3 separate regions of the Homo sapiens genome follow, and all the other regions are linked to region 3. The links are contacts of gene promoters, found by promoter capture Hi-C in blood cells and fetal thymus (Javierre and others, 2016). All regions are on one chromosome and are shown on one strand. The core of a region is centred on a gene start or on the middle of the fragment in contact, and the rest is flanking DNA. Distances in the headings are between cores, read along the strand shown.

Region 1 (4,125 bases), core at 952-3,451, 1.2 Mb before region 3:
ATAAAATACTTTCAGAATTTCTGAATTATATGCTAATGATGATATAAGTTTAGAAAAGGGGAAGATGAGTATGGGCTTGAAAATTTAGGGGTGGATTCGTGCATGACAGCAGAGTTGGAAGACAGTCTAAGTCAGAGTAATCGCATGAACAGAGGTACAGAGATAAAACAGAGCTTTGCTCATCTGGGAGCCATGAGATAACTTACCCACTAGCTAGGAGAAAGTGTGCTAGTCATTCTGCCCAGCTGTTTATTGGTGCATATTACTTACATGTAGGACTATGCTAGATGCTGGGAGAAATACAAAGATGCAGACAAACAACTTTTCTTCATAATACATGCTATCTTGTGGATGGGGCAAGCCACAACTAACTGCATTAAGAGTCAGAATAGCTCAGAGCTTGCCAAAGGGCACAGGCCCTGGAGTTTCCCTGAACAACTCCATCACTCTTGAGGGATGACCTCGGGGAAGATAGTACTTCACTTCTCTAAGCCTTGGTTTCCTTACCTGCGTGCACAGTTGGGGTTAATCTCAACTGGTCTGGATTGTTCATGCTCTTATGCAGGGAGCTACTGACCCTTGGCTAATGCTATAGTACTTATTAACTAAAGACAAATGCTATTCTGTATGGGTCTGTGAGTTGTTCTGGAGCAGGATGTATCAGTGTGTCATCATTGTTTAGAAATAACCGGATTTATGATTTGCATCTGGTTTCAGTAGAGGTTGGGAGCAGGGGGTGATGTTTCAACAGTTAAGGCTGGTCACATAGCTGAGATGTGCCTAGTGACCAGGTTATGGTGAGAGATTCCTTACCAAGAACGGACTTTGGACTTCCAGATGCTGATGGTGGTTTGAGACCTAGAGACTAAGTGAAGTTGGTATGACCCTACCCAGTGGAAAGAGGACAAGGAAACCTGTGCCTAACATTTTGGGACCATTTTGAATGCATGTCCTTCTCCTGCCATTGCCATAGGTATCTCTTGCCTGGTGATGATAAACGGAGCCTTGAGTCCTTTCAGCAATCAGACCCTTAGAATGATTAATGTGTAATTACTGGACTGAAAAATAGTAATAATGATAATCCCCACATTATACTGTTGTATTGAGAAAGAAATAAAACGATCTAGGGCTAGTTCTTGGATTCATGTCTGGCATGTTATAGGTGGTTAATGAATGATTGTTATAATATTTACCAAATAGTGCGTTTGGGATAAAACATGTTTTATCCCAAGCATTCAGAGGCAAAAACCAATCCTACAAATTATAGTGGTAATCGGAAATTTCATAGAAAGGGTGAAATTTCATACTGGCTTTGGATAATGTGTAGAATTCATGTGCAGAAAGAAGTGTAGAGGGACAGACAAAATAGGAGCAAAGTGCAGGATCAGGAAATACAATGGCATTTTTAAGAGACAGGTGAGGATGTAAGCTTGGCCAGAAAGAAAATATTATTAGGAGATGAATCCCCAAAGGTACATGGAGATCTTGTCTGACATTGTTTACAACAGCAAAAATTGGAGAAAATCCCAAATTCACATCCTCAAAGACAGTAGATGAATGATCTGTTATAGTCACACAAAATACTATAATGCGACACTCAGTGAATGAACTGTGATGATGTGCAGCAACACAGAGGAATCCTAACATAATATTGAGATAAATAACTAAAATAAAAATATATGCCTTTAAAAAACAGATAGACAGATCGAATAAGACCATGTTAAAAAGAGAGAGAAGGAAAATGCACACCATATTTAGGATGGTAGTTACCTTGGGAAAGGGGTAGCAGATAGAAGGGATGGGGACCACACAGCTAGATGTGACTGATTGCCAAAGTTTCAGCTTCCATATTGGCTGTTAGGTCCACAGGTGCTTGTTACATTATTAAAATACACACATACGTACATGCATAATTAATGGAGGAGAGATATGCAGAAACCATCAATAAGTGTGCCATGAGCCAAGGATTAAGATTAATACAATTCTGTGATCTTGAGGTCCCTCAGAGAAAAAAAAATACAAATAAAAGCAAAAGCAGGCCAGATGCAGCGCTCATGCCTGTAATCCCAGCACTTTGGGAGGCCAAGGCAGGAGGATCTCCAGAGGCCAGGAGCTCAAGACCAGCCTGCACAACAGAGTGAGACCTCTGTCTCTACAAAAAGATTTAAAAATTAGCTGAGTGTCATTGTGCAGTAGTAGCAGTAGTCCCAGCTATTCGGGAGGCTGAGGCGGGAGGCTAGCTTGAGCCTAGGAGTTTGAGGTTACAGTGAGCTATGATTATGCCACTGCCCTCCAGCCTGGGCAACAGAGCGAGAAGCTGTTTGAAAGGGAAAAAAAAGCAAAAGCACATAAATGTTTTTCTAACCCACACAATCCAAAATATTTATACTTTGTATACTTAATATTTGAAAAAATATTTATATACTTTAATATACTTAATATTTGAGAAAAATGGAATCCATCTCTGCAGCAGAGCATAATCCTCCCCAAACCTTCAATTTGCTACCTTTTATTTTACATTTCCCTTCAGCTAGACAATGGAAGATGTGAGTTTATTGCTGAACCAAAGTGCGAAATACACTTCCATCATGTTAAACTACTGAGATTTAAGAGTTGGGTTTGTTACTCCATCATTAAGTAGCCTGTACTGACTAATTCATCTACATTATGAAGACCTTATGCATTTCACATTCCAAACTTACAAAACAGATGTTACTCACATCACATAAAGAACTTGTAACTTTATCAACAGAGTTAATGATAAAATAATCATCTTTAATGCATCAAGAGAAAAGAACACCAGAACTGAAGTCATCCTGACAAGTTAATTCTTTGCATGGTGGTGTTAGGTGAAATTACTGACCCTGTTATGTTTCCATTTCTTTATGTATAAAATGGAATAATAGTAAAAGTTTTTATTTTTTTACAATGTGGCTCTGAATATTGAATGAGACAAGGTGTATGAAAGCTTTAACAAATATGGCCTTCTTTTGAGGATCTTATTTTTCTTTGGAGACACTACCTCCTTGAGAACCAACAGGCCAAATAAAATTAAATTGTTATATCCTCCAATAGTTAAAAGTAAATGAGAAATTATTAACTATTAATGAACAGAAACATATTGATTTGGTATATAACAGATTAACAAATATTTTTAAGAAATATAACGAATACATGTAAGTGAATTTCTCAATTTGACCACTAGATGGAAGCATTCTCCCAAAAATTGTGCACCTTTTTTAGGCCGTTTGTCTTCTAATGCAAACACGGTACCTCTCCAATGCAATAGCTTGAAGACACGTCTTACACTTAGGAATAAACACATAATAGGATATCCCTGGATCACAATAATGTAATGCATGATTTTTAAAAAGTGATTCAACCATTCTTTTCCTTGTTTTATTTTCTGCTGCAAAACACTTTAAAGATACACGATAACAAAACAGAGTAATGGAAAAGACATAATGGAGACCTAGAAATGGCCTACCAAACACACTAGACAGAATCACCTCCCAGTTTCTAACATTGTTTTCAACCACACCTTTACTTGTTATCCTTGGGCTTGGAATTTCTTGAGATCCTGTTTCCCAGGTGTTACCTTCTTGGTCAGGTCTTCCACTTCCCCTTTATCCTAAGGGCAGAGAAGACCATCTCCTCTGTGATTCTTCCCTACATCTCTGCACCCTGCGTGCACATCTCCAGTACAGCACGAGCCCATTGTCCAATAGTTTATTCATGTGTCTGTCTCCCAATCTCTCTGGGCACTTCTGAGCACAGGGAATGGGGTCTTTAGCCTGGCAGAGGTGCCTGTTACATACAGGGAACCAATAGCAGTTTGCTGAATGAACCTTAATCTTACCTGAATATGTATAAACACTGCTACCCATTGGACTAAGATATTGTCTGACTGGTCCAAAATGTATCAAAAAAAGCTGTCTTCTTCTTCCTCTCCACACTTTTCCAATGTTGTCCGCACCCACCCAGATGCAAGTGTTAAAACAATGCTTAAAGACAAAGTTTTAAACTTCCTAAGTTAATTACATTGTTTTTGTGAATGTGGAAAACGTTTTTAAGTTTAAAGTCATTATGTTAATTTTATGACAATAATGTAATATAGAATATGTA
Region 2 (4,416 bases), core at 1,875-4,374, 1.2 Mb after region 3:
AGAACAATGAAAATGATGATCTTCTGTAAATGAAACCACTGGAAGAATGTCAATATCAATCTTTGATTACTGCATCCAAAAAGTCATGCAACTAAATGCAGAATGCTTCATTCTGCTTTTATAAGGAAAAATTTAAGGGTTAAAACAATAGCTGATACTTCAAAAAAGTAAGTTCTATATACAGACATTCAGTTACAGTCAGCTCTACATGTCCCACATCACCTCCATTAATTAAATGAGAATTTACTACAACTACAAAGAACAGAATAGTCGGCAAACCCAAGAATCTTTTATGCTCTTAGTTTAAAAATCCATTTCATTTTGTCTCTTCAGGTCATCAAGAATCTCTGTGAATTACTCCTGAGAGAGATGAAGGCCGGTAAAACACTGCCTTTTCAAATCAGAAAAGAAAGATTATTATTCATACAAGAGACTTCAAGACATGCTGACTTTTTTTTAAATCCTGTTTTTGTGGATTAATTGATTAAAAGTAGAGGGTTAAGTACCTCCGATAATGTCTAACATCTCAAGGAACTTAAAGTATATATCCATATATAGGTCTTTTAAGCTTCAGTAATTTCTCATTTTCAGTATTATTTCCATAAGACTATACAGAAGATATATGTATGTACTTTTTTTTCCCACATACCAACAAAAGAGCATGCCAAAACATAATATACATAAAACCATACCTTGAACACCTTCTAGGAGTAAATCAACTCCCTTCCTATAAAAATCAGAAGCAGCTTCATAGTCGTCTTCTTCTTCCTTTTTTAAAGCCAGCTTTATTAATTCTCCTGCTTTCTCCAAATAATCTCTCTTGCCAAGCTTCGGCTTTAAACTGCCAGGAAAGAGGCTACGACTTTCCCGTTCTTCTTCTGTTTTGCTCTGTTCACTGTCAGAAGCAACAGCCCCTAGTGCTGAAGAATCCGAAGAAAGATTGAGACCAAAAGTTCTAATGGGAGAATTTTGATTGGAAGCCATTCCATCATCTAACTCAGCAAGAGAATCCACATCAACAGTAAGAGATACCAGATCACTGTCACTGGAGAAGCCTAGAAATATGATCACAATAGTAAACAGATATTAAATTGAGAATCAGCCAAACGAATACAAATCATGCTAATTATTCATTTTTCATATTATCCAAGTCAATTTGGAAGGCTGTAATTTACTGATGGAAGTCAGTGTCTAGCAATTTGTTTAGGCTTAGTCCATTCATTTTACTGTCTCTCTGTAACTCTGGAAGACAACTTCTTGCCTTAATCATCAAACTAAAATTGAAGACAAATCTTTATCTAGTTTGGTTGCCAAAAAGAGCCTTTACCACAAGATCCTGTAAGCTATTTACAGAAAGCTGTTGCCTGTACACATAGTTGCTATAAATAATAGCATTTTAATAAAGGAAAAAGCACTTGAATCTCAGCTCTCTTTTTTTTGTTTTGTTTTTGTTTTTGAGAACAGCATCTTGCCATGTTGCCCAGCTGCACTCCAACTCGTGGGCTCAAGCAATCCTCCCACTTCAGCCTCCCGAGTAGCTTAGATGGCATGAGCCACCAAGCCCAGCGCCAGCTCTTAAAACTTACTGTGTGACCAACAGCAGGTTACTTAATAGTATTACTTATTATGCAAGTCTTTAAATGAGGAATAGAGTTAATGCATATAAAGCATAATAGACTATCATTATATTATAACTTTTATAACAATTACATAAACAGGTTGAATATCCTTCATCTGAAATGCTCGGGACAGAAGTGTTTCAGATTTCAGATTTTCAGATTAGGGATACTCAACCTGTAACTATATAACAACTACACAATGCGTCCTCAGAAGTGTGCTTTTAGGTAACCATCCGTAACTGGAAAATGTATGCTATTTAGCATTTTTTAAAAACTGAATTTTTAGACATTTTCATCTCAGCCTCTTCTACAAGCTTCTGGAAAGGTATATTTCCACCTTAGTTTTCAGACAAAAAAGAGGTAATAGGTGCTACTGAATTATTTAGCAGTGAAAATTCCTTCTCCTAGTTCATATAACTGACATCATGGTAAATGAGCACGATCCACAATACATATCAGACTTTCTGCTCCCAGGACAGCCTTTTATATTCTTCAAAATGATTGTGGACTCTAAAAAGCTTTTGTTCATGTGAATTGTATCTGTGAATATTTATTAAATACCAATATTGATATTTACAAAAGAAGTCTAGAAATGTATAAAATAAAGCATTAAAGCCCCATTACATGTTAACATAATTTTTATGAAAAATAACTATATTTTCCAAAACAAAAAAAGTTAGTGAAAGAAGTGGCATTGTTTTACATTTTTGCACTGTTTTACATTGTTTTACATTTTTGTTAATGTCTGGATTAACAGCAGATAGCTAGAATCTCATATCTGATTCTGCTCACAATCTGTTGTCATATGTTGTTTTGGATGAAAGATATGAAGGAAATGTCACATAGATAATGTAACTGAAAAAGAAACAAGTATTAGCCTTTTCAAATAATTATGAATATTGTTCTTTGATACTACACCAAAACTCAACAAGTGATAGGTTTTTAAAGCTTAGTTGTAATGTGGAATATAAAATCCTATGAATGAAATTTCTGTTTCTGTTACATTCAAATCCATTGGTCTGTCTTGCACACTGAATGGATCTTTTATCTGTGCATGAATTTATAACATCACACATTGGTCATCCTGAAAATACTGGTTCCCTTAGTTATAAAGATCTTCGAAATGTTGACAGCACATTTCATTATCCCAAAAAATCATATGTCAACATTTCATTATCTACCAATCTCATCAGAAAACTAAGTATTGGGAAACTGTCAAACCCAAAGTGGCAGACAGAGGTTATCTGAAAATCCTAATTTTGAATTGAAAACTCCAATTTTATGATTGGCAACAAATAATATCAGTTGTTTTCCTTGAAGTGTCAGCTTACTTCACTCCCTTTCAAGAAAAAAAGTGCCAAATACACAAGTCTGAATAATGACAGTTTGTTAATTGTTCTTTCAAGCAAAATGGTGTCCCATGAAAAAAGCAGCTAGTTCAGCTAATGGCTCAAACAACTGCATAAGTGCTTTTCCTCAAGACGACCATGGTAGTTCAGTATGCAGAGTGCTTTATGTATAATTCTCATTTTTTCACACAGCATATTAAAAAGACAAGTGACAAGGGTTAAGATTTAACAAAATGTAACAGTTTCTACTACTTAGGAAAAATTAGCATTGGTTTTATAAGTATGTGCAATGAGTACTGTTACGGTTTGGTGACACTGCCTTGATTCATGCCCAAGCACAGCAGTTTCACCTACCATGGCTTTTGCATCATCAGGGCAAATGTCAATATGGTGAAAAGACAAAGAATGTCCTGGCATTATTATCAAAACAGTTTTGCTTTATGAACTCCCTGAAAATATCTCAGAAACACCCAGAGATCTGAAGATTACATTTGAGAGCCAGTGATCTATACCATTAAATAAGACTGACAACAGAGTTATATAAAAACTAGTTTGGAAATAACTGAGATCTGCATTCACCACTGAACATTATCTGCCAAGTTTCTCAGGAAAAAAAAATTAAAAAGAAAATGATATCCTCAGGATTATATACTAAATCAAAATTAAAAGTGGATTAGACTATACAATTCTAGATCAGGGATCAGCAAGCTTTTTCTATAAAGGGCCAGAAAGTAAATATTTTAGGCTTTGCAGGCCATATGTGGTCTCTGTCACCACTCAACACTGCCATTGTAGTGCAAAAGCAGCCATAGACAATATATAAATGAATAAGCATGGCTGTGTTCCAGTAAAACTTTATTTACAGACATTGAAGTGTGAATTCCTTATAATTTTCCCATCACAAAACCACAAAATCATATTCTTTTAATTTTTTTAACTATTTAAAAATGCAAAAACCATTCTTAGTTTTCAGGCCATACAAAAACAGGTGGCAGGCCAGATTCAGCCCATAGAACATAGTTTTGCCAACCCCTATTTTAAATTCAAATTGCCTACTTCATATCAAATAAAGTAAGTTAGGGTAAAAACATGTTACTGGCCACTAAGCTCAAATTTCTAATCAGCTTTAGATGCTGCTTTGGCACCCTGTCAATATATATCCTCATTTTCAACTTTTTTTCAACTTCTTAGAATGCCCCAAAAGAACAAATTCTATTCCCAAAAAGCAACAGATTTCATTAAACCGACAATCTCAAATGAGATTCATTGAGCCTAGTGAAAATCTTTTCAGTCCTCTGACATTTCAGCCATACGGACAGTAACAGTACTTCATAATAAGAATCTTTTATAGCAATCTACAGTTATTTATCTACTATCCTAAGAAATATATATAAATTTTATGAGATTTTTCTTGTCATTTTAAATATTTTATGTATTTCAATGTAAAC
Region 3 (4,710 bases), core at 440-2,939:
CAATGCTCACTTCACTCAAACGTTGCAAAGTGGTGCCATGACCCTTTAGCTCTTGGCTCACCAATTCAAAGAGCCACATCACATACAGCCCTTAAGCTGCCCACGGCATGATTCCGTGTCTAGTTCCTTTCCAGGTCCCCCCAAGCGGAAGACAGTTCTGGCAGGGAGTCTGGGCAAGATTACTACAATATTTAGCCTTTGTCCCTTCTTTTGCTACGTCTTATTGTAGAATGAGGCACACAGGTCTGAGAGATTGAGTATGCTGGACTTGAGACCTGTACTCAAAAGGTCCCTGCAGGACCGCAGGTCAGCTTAATCCAGCCCAGGAATCTCCATTTCAAAGATGAAGAAACTGAGGTTCAAAGAAAGCAAATCATGGTCTCTACTCAGAGTACTGGAAGGCCTGATATAAACTTAACCCCAATGCCATGCCTCCTGCCTTAGTAAATTTACTGAGCACCTAACCAGTGAGAAATAGGCAGAAGTGAATAAGGCCAGATTTCACTCCCTTCACTACTGGTGTGAATGGATAAAGGTAACTCCACTTTCTCTCTGGGCTTTAGTTTTCTCATCCATTAAGTGAAAGACAAGACTGAATTGGTGATTTCTAATGTGCCTTTAAGCTCTGAAACTCTCATAAGAGTTGAGGATATAATTATGTGTTGGTGTGTGCAAATGTATATGCATCATATATACAAACACAGACACATATATACATATGGTATCTTACAATTAAATACCATTAGCAACCACACATCTTGCCCAATCCCTTCCTGCGACCATGTTTTCCTAATCCCAAACCGAAACTGGACACTGCAACTCATCGTCGCAGCACCTCAGAATCCAGGGGGTGTGGTCAGTGCCCACTGGCGTCCCTCCAAACACCCATGTAAGCGTACTTTAACATGTAAGCGTACTTTACAAGACATATACTAAGTCATTAAATTCCTTGGAAGAAACGGCCAATCTGAGGCAGGGCTGGACTGTGGGTAACAGAACACACCGCAGGAAGCATAAGTTAAAGGTGACAGCCCGTGGCTGCCCAAATTTGGGGCTCCGCTGCCAATGCACCGGGAGGGCAGTGAGTGCCCAGGCTTGGAACAAGCCTGGCTCGGAGCCCACATTTGAGGGCAGGAACCTGCACGCCCGGGTTTGCGCATCCAGCGTGAGCAACTCTGAAAACGTGCAGTGCAGGGCGTGCAGCGGGGCACCGGTCCTGTTTCCTCTCGCACGTGGCGCCTGGCGTGGGGCTGCAGCGCGGGGCCGCAGCGCGGGGCCTCCTCCCCTCCCCGCCCCCCACCCCGCCCCAAGGGCCGGCGCTAGGACCCCGCGAGCCGCACGCACTTCCTGGCGCCGCCGTCCAAGCCTCCCGCTCGGCGCCCCCGGCTCCCGCCCGCCGCCGCCGCCGCCGCCGCCCTACCTGGTGAAGCAGTACTCGCAGTGGTTGCCCCGCTCGTTGACCGTGAGCACGTAGGCATAGGCCGGGCAGGAGAACAGCAAGTCCCCCACCTGGAAGGGCTGCAGAGCCCGCAGCCCCCGGCCTTTGCCCGGGCTGCAGAAGCGCTCCAGGCCGCCGAGGCCCTCGGCCCTCATGGTGGCGGCGGGGCGCGGCCGCCGGCTGTGCCCGAGCTGCGGCTCCCGGCGAGCTGTTATTGGAGACGCGTCACCTAGAGCTGCGGGGGGCGGGGTGGGAGCCGCCCGGCGGACGCGGCGGCGGCTCCCCGCTCCCCGGAAGGGAGGGCGGCCCCGCCCGGGCCTCGCGCGCCCCCGCGGGGAGGGGGACGGGCCCGGCGGCCCCGCCTAGCGCCGCGACCCTCGGCGGCCGCCCCGCGCGCGCTCCGGGCCGTTTCCGGTGTGGCCGCGACAAAGAGCCGCAGCCCCTGTGGCTTCTGCGAGGAGGCGTGAGGCGTGTGCGCCTCCGCGGCGTCTCCACGGAGCGAGCGGGACGCGCCCTCCTCCTCGGTGGGAGGGAGGGGGGTCACCTGCGGGGACCAGGTATCCGAGGGCCACCCCTAGACAGTCAGCCTGGCCCGAAGGATGACCAGCCCCCGGTAAATAGAAGGGGGCGAAGCCAGCTCCGAAACCTTACGTTCGCTGTCCCTTGTAAAGACCCTAGAGGCAGTGATCGGGGAACGCCAAGGAGAAAGCGGCAGAGGGGAAACCACAGTAGAGAAGTTTGGTGTGCAGAGGGTTGAAGTGTGCTTTTCCAAGGTTAGAGGTTTTTAAACCTTGTGGCTTTAATGGGAACGTAGTTTGCCCTCTGCTCCTCTAGTGGAATTACATGGACGGAAGAGGAAATGCATTGGCCGGCCCAGCTCACCGAGTCTCTGAGGCATGCTGCGAACGTTGCAGAGGAAGCCAGAGAGAACCTTGCCTTCAAGGAATTTAGGCTGTTGGGGGATAATGCGATGCTGTGGCCAGTGTCCAGGACACTGCGCTAGAGTTTGCAGTAGTTTTAATATGCTTGACCACCCACGAACTGTGATCTTAGAAAAGTCACTTGGGTTAGGAGTCAAAGGATTTAAAGCCCACAAAGCCTGAAACGTAAATCCTATACACATGCACGCTATTACTTTTCATATGAGAAAGGAAAATATAATCCGTGTTCCACATGATTATGTAAAGACTGGAATTGATGTACATGCAGTAAAGACTAAAATTGTGACGAGATCATTTAGCAGAAACCACTACTTCAAAATAGGACCTCAAACAGTTACCTGTGTAAGTTCAGGACTGGTTGAGCAAAGGGAAAGGATTAATATGATTGGAGATGTAAAATCAGTGGAATTTTTGGCATTTCAGTAAAATGTCTTTATCAGCTGGGTGTGGTGGCTCAGCCCTGTAATCCCAACACTGTGGGAGGCCAAGGTGGGAGGATCATTTGAGCCCAGGAATTGGAGAGTTGGAGACCAGCTTGGGCAACATAAAGACCCCGTCTCTATGGGAAATTAACCACCTCTCAAGTGGTGCTGAGGTGGGAGGATAGCTTGAGCCTGGGAAGTCAAGGTTGCAGTGAGCTGTGGTGACTCCATTATACTCCAGCCTGGGTGACAGAGCAGGACCTTGTCTCAAAAGAAAACAAAAAAGCCCTTATTAGTGGCAAACTAAATAAGCCTCTAACCCGTCTTCAAGTAAAGGAAGTTATGATAGTATTTTCATTTATGCATTTTAAGAAACTTCGACTGACTATGGCCAGCAACTGGGATAGAAAGATGGACATCAGCCGGCTGTGGTGGCTCACGCCTGTAATCCCAGCACTTTGGGAGGCCGAGGTAGGCGGATCACCTGAGGTCGAGAGTTCAAGACCAGCCTGACCAACATGGAGAAACCTCATCTCTACTAAAAATACAAAATTAGCCAGGTGTGGTGGTGCATGCCTGTAATCCCAGCTACTCGGGAGGCTGAGGCAGGAGAATCGCTTGAACCTGGGAGGTGGAGGTTGCTGTGAGCCAAAATCGCACCATTGCACTCCAGCCTGCGCAAGAAGAGCGAAACTCTGTCTCAAAAAAAAAAAAAAAAAAAAAGTGGACAAAATGTAGTCCTAGGTCCTTGCATTTGGCACATTCAAGTTTGATAATACCATTAGTTATTGAGTATTGTTGACCAGGCATCGTGCTCCATCATTAAACACATTATCTGGTTTATCTTTACAACAGGCTAATGAGTTAGGTATTATGCCCCTCATTGCCAAAATTAGGAAGGAAACTAAGACCCAGAAGGAATGATTTTCAAGGCCACACAATAAATTGCAGAATTTGGTTTCCAAGTCAGTCTGAATTCAAGGTCCATGTTCCTAACCACAGTGTTTTGCTGCAAACAAACACAGTTCACTGGGATAAGTGCAGTTATGGTGGCTTGTACAAAATGTTCTGTGGTAGTACAGGCAGGGAGTGACAGCTTTAGCCTGCTAAACAGTCAAGACAGGCATCACATTCAAGTAACGTTAGAGCTGAGCCTGAAGGATGGACAGGATTTTGCAAGTGGAGGTGGGGAGAAGAGTTTTCTGGGCAGAGAGAACTGCGTACAAAGACAGAAGACCCTGAAAGCACAGAGCTTGTAGTTGGGGGCCCCTGAGCATCTGGAAGAGAGGACAGGAAATGAGGCAGGAACAGCTGAAGAGCATCTTCTCCAGAGGTGAGTTCTGCCCCAGAGGCCATGGGAGAGCCAGTTAAAGCGTTTAAGTGAGGGGTGGCACATTGAGTCCAGTGTTTTAGACTGATCTGCCAGCAGCATTGTGGGTTGGCTGGGGTGCCAACATTCAGCACTTCATAACTGTTTACATGTATATAAACAGCCTTGGCATGTGAGACCACTGACAGTTTGCATTTGTCTGTGTGATGACCTGATTAGTGTTTACATCCTCCACCAGACTGTACAAGCTCCATGAGGGCAGGGAATGAGTCTGTTTTTGTTACCCTTACATCACCAGCTCTTATCACTACTCCTGGAACACAGAGAGAATGGAAAAAATATTTAAAGGTTGAATAAACGTCATGGAATCTCATTCTGATTTCTGGGGGCTCTAACCAGCAAAAAGATGAAAAGACTGACGTAGAAGTAAACAATTACAATACAGTAGACAGTTTACTGTTTCAATGATTAATTGTGCAAAGTAATCTACCTGTTTACTTTTTTTATTGCAAGTAACTTTTTCCACTTTAATTGGGAAAGATTTCCACAGCTGAGAAAAAAGCAATTACATAGCTACCG

The links. Contacts are between HindIII fragments. The CHiCAGO score rates a contact against its expected background, and 5 or more counts as called.
Region 1: a contact is called between a fragment that was not itself captured here and the fragment with the promoter of SMYD2 in region 3, in 4 of 17 cell types (naive CD8 T cells, M2 macrophages, activated CD4 T cells and 1 more). The highest score is 7.3, in naive CD8 T cells.
Region 2: a contact is called between a fragment that was not itself captured here and the fragment with the promoter of SMYD2 in region 3, in 2 of 17 cell types (M0 macrophages and M2 macrophages). The highest score is 6.9, in M0 macrophages.

The regions. Positions count from the first base shown.
Region 1 is chr1:215,525,826-215,529,950 of GRCh38, reverse strand. No RefSeq gene overlaps it. Among named protein-coding and RNA genes, the nearest start is that of KCTD3, 39 kb to the left of the region's middle. The HindIII fragment of the contact is 1,539 bases long and covers 1,432-2,970 here.
Region 2 is chr1:213,126,166-213,130,581 of GRCh38, reverse strand. RPS6KC1 (ribosomal protein S6 kinase C1) reads right to left here. Exons shown (of 15, transcript NM_012424.6): 6 at 693-1,055. Among named protein-coding and RNA genes, the nearest start is that of RPS6KC1, 77 kb to the right of the region's middle. The HindIII fragment of the contact is 1,109 bases long and covers 2,570-3,678 here.
Region 3 is chr1:214,278,138-214,282,847 of GRCh38, reverse strand. It overlaps SMYD2 (SET and MYND domain containing 2), which reads right to left and starts at 1,689. Exons shown (of 12, transcript NM_020197.3): 1 at 1,421-1,689. The coding sequence starts at 1,593. LOC124904509 (a long non-coding RNA gene) reads left to right here and starts at 1,812. Exons shown (of 2, transcript XR_007066876.1): 1 at 1,812-4,134. RefSeq lists silencers at 1,270-1,429, 1,460-1,579, 1,600-1,889 and an enhancer at 2,169-2,734. The HindIII fragment of the contact is 17,351 bases long and covers 1-4,710 here.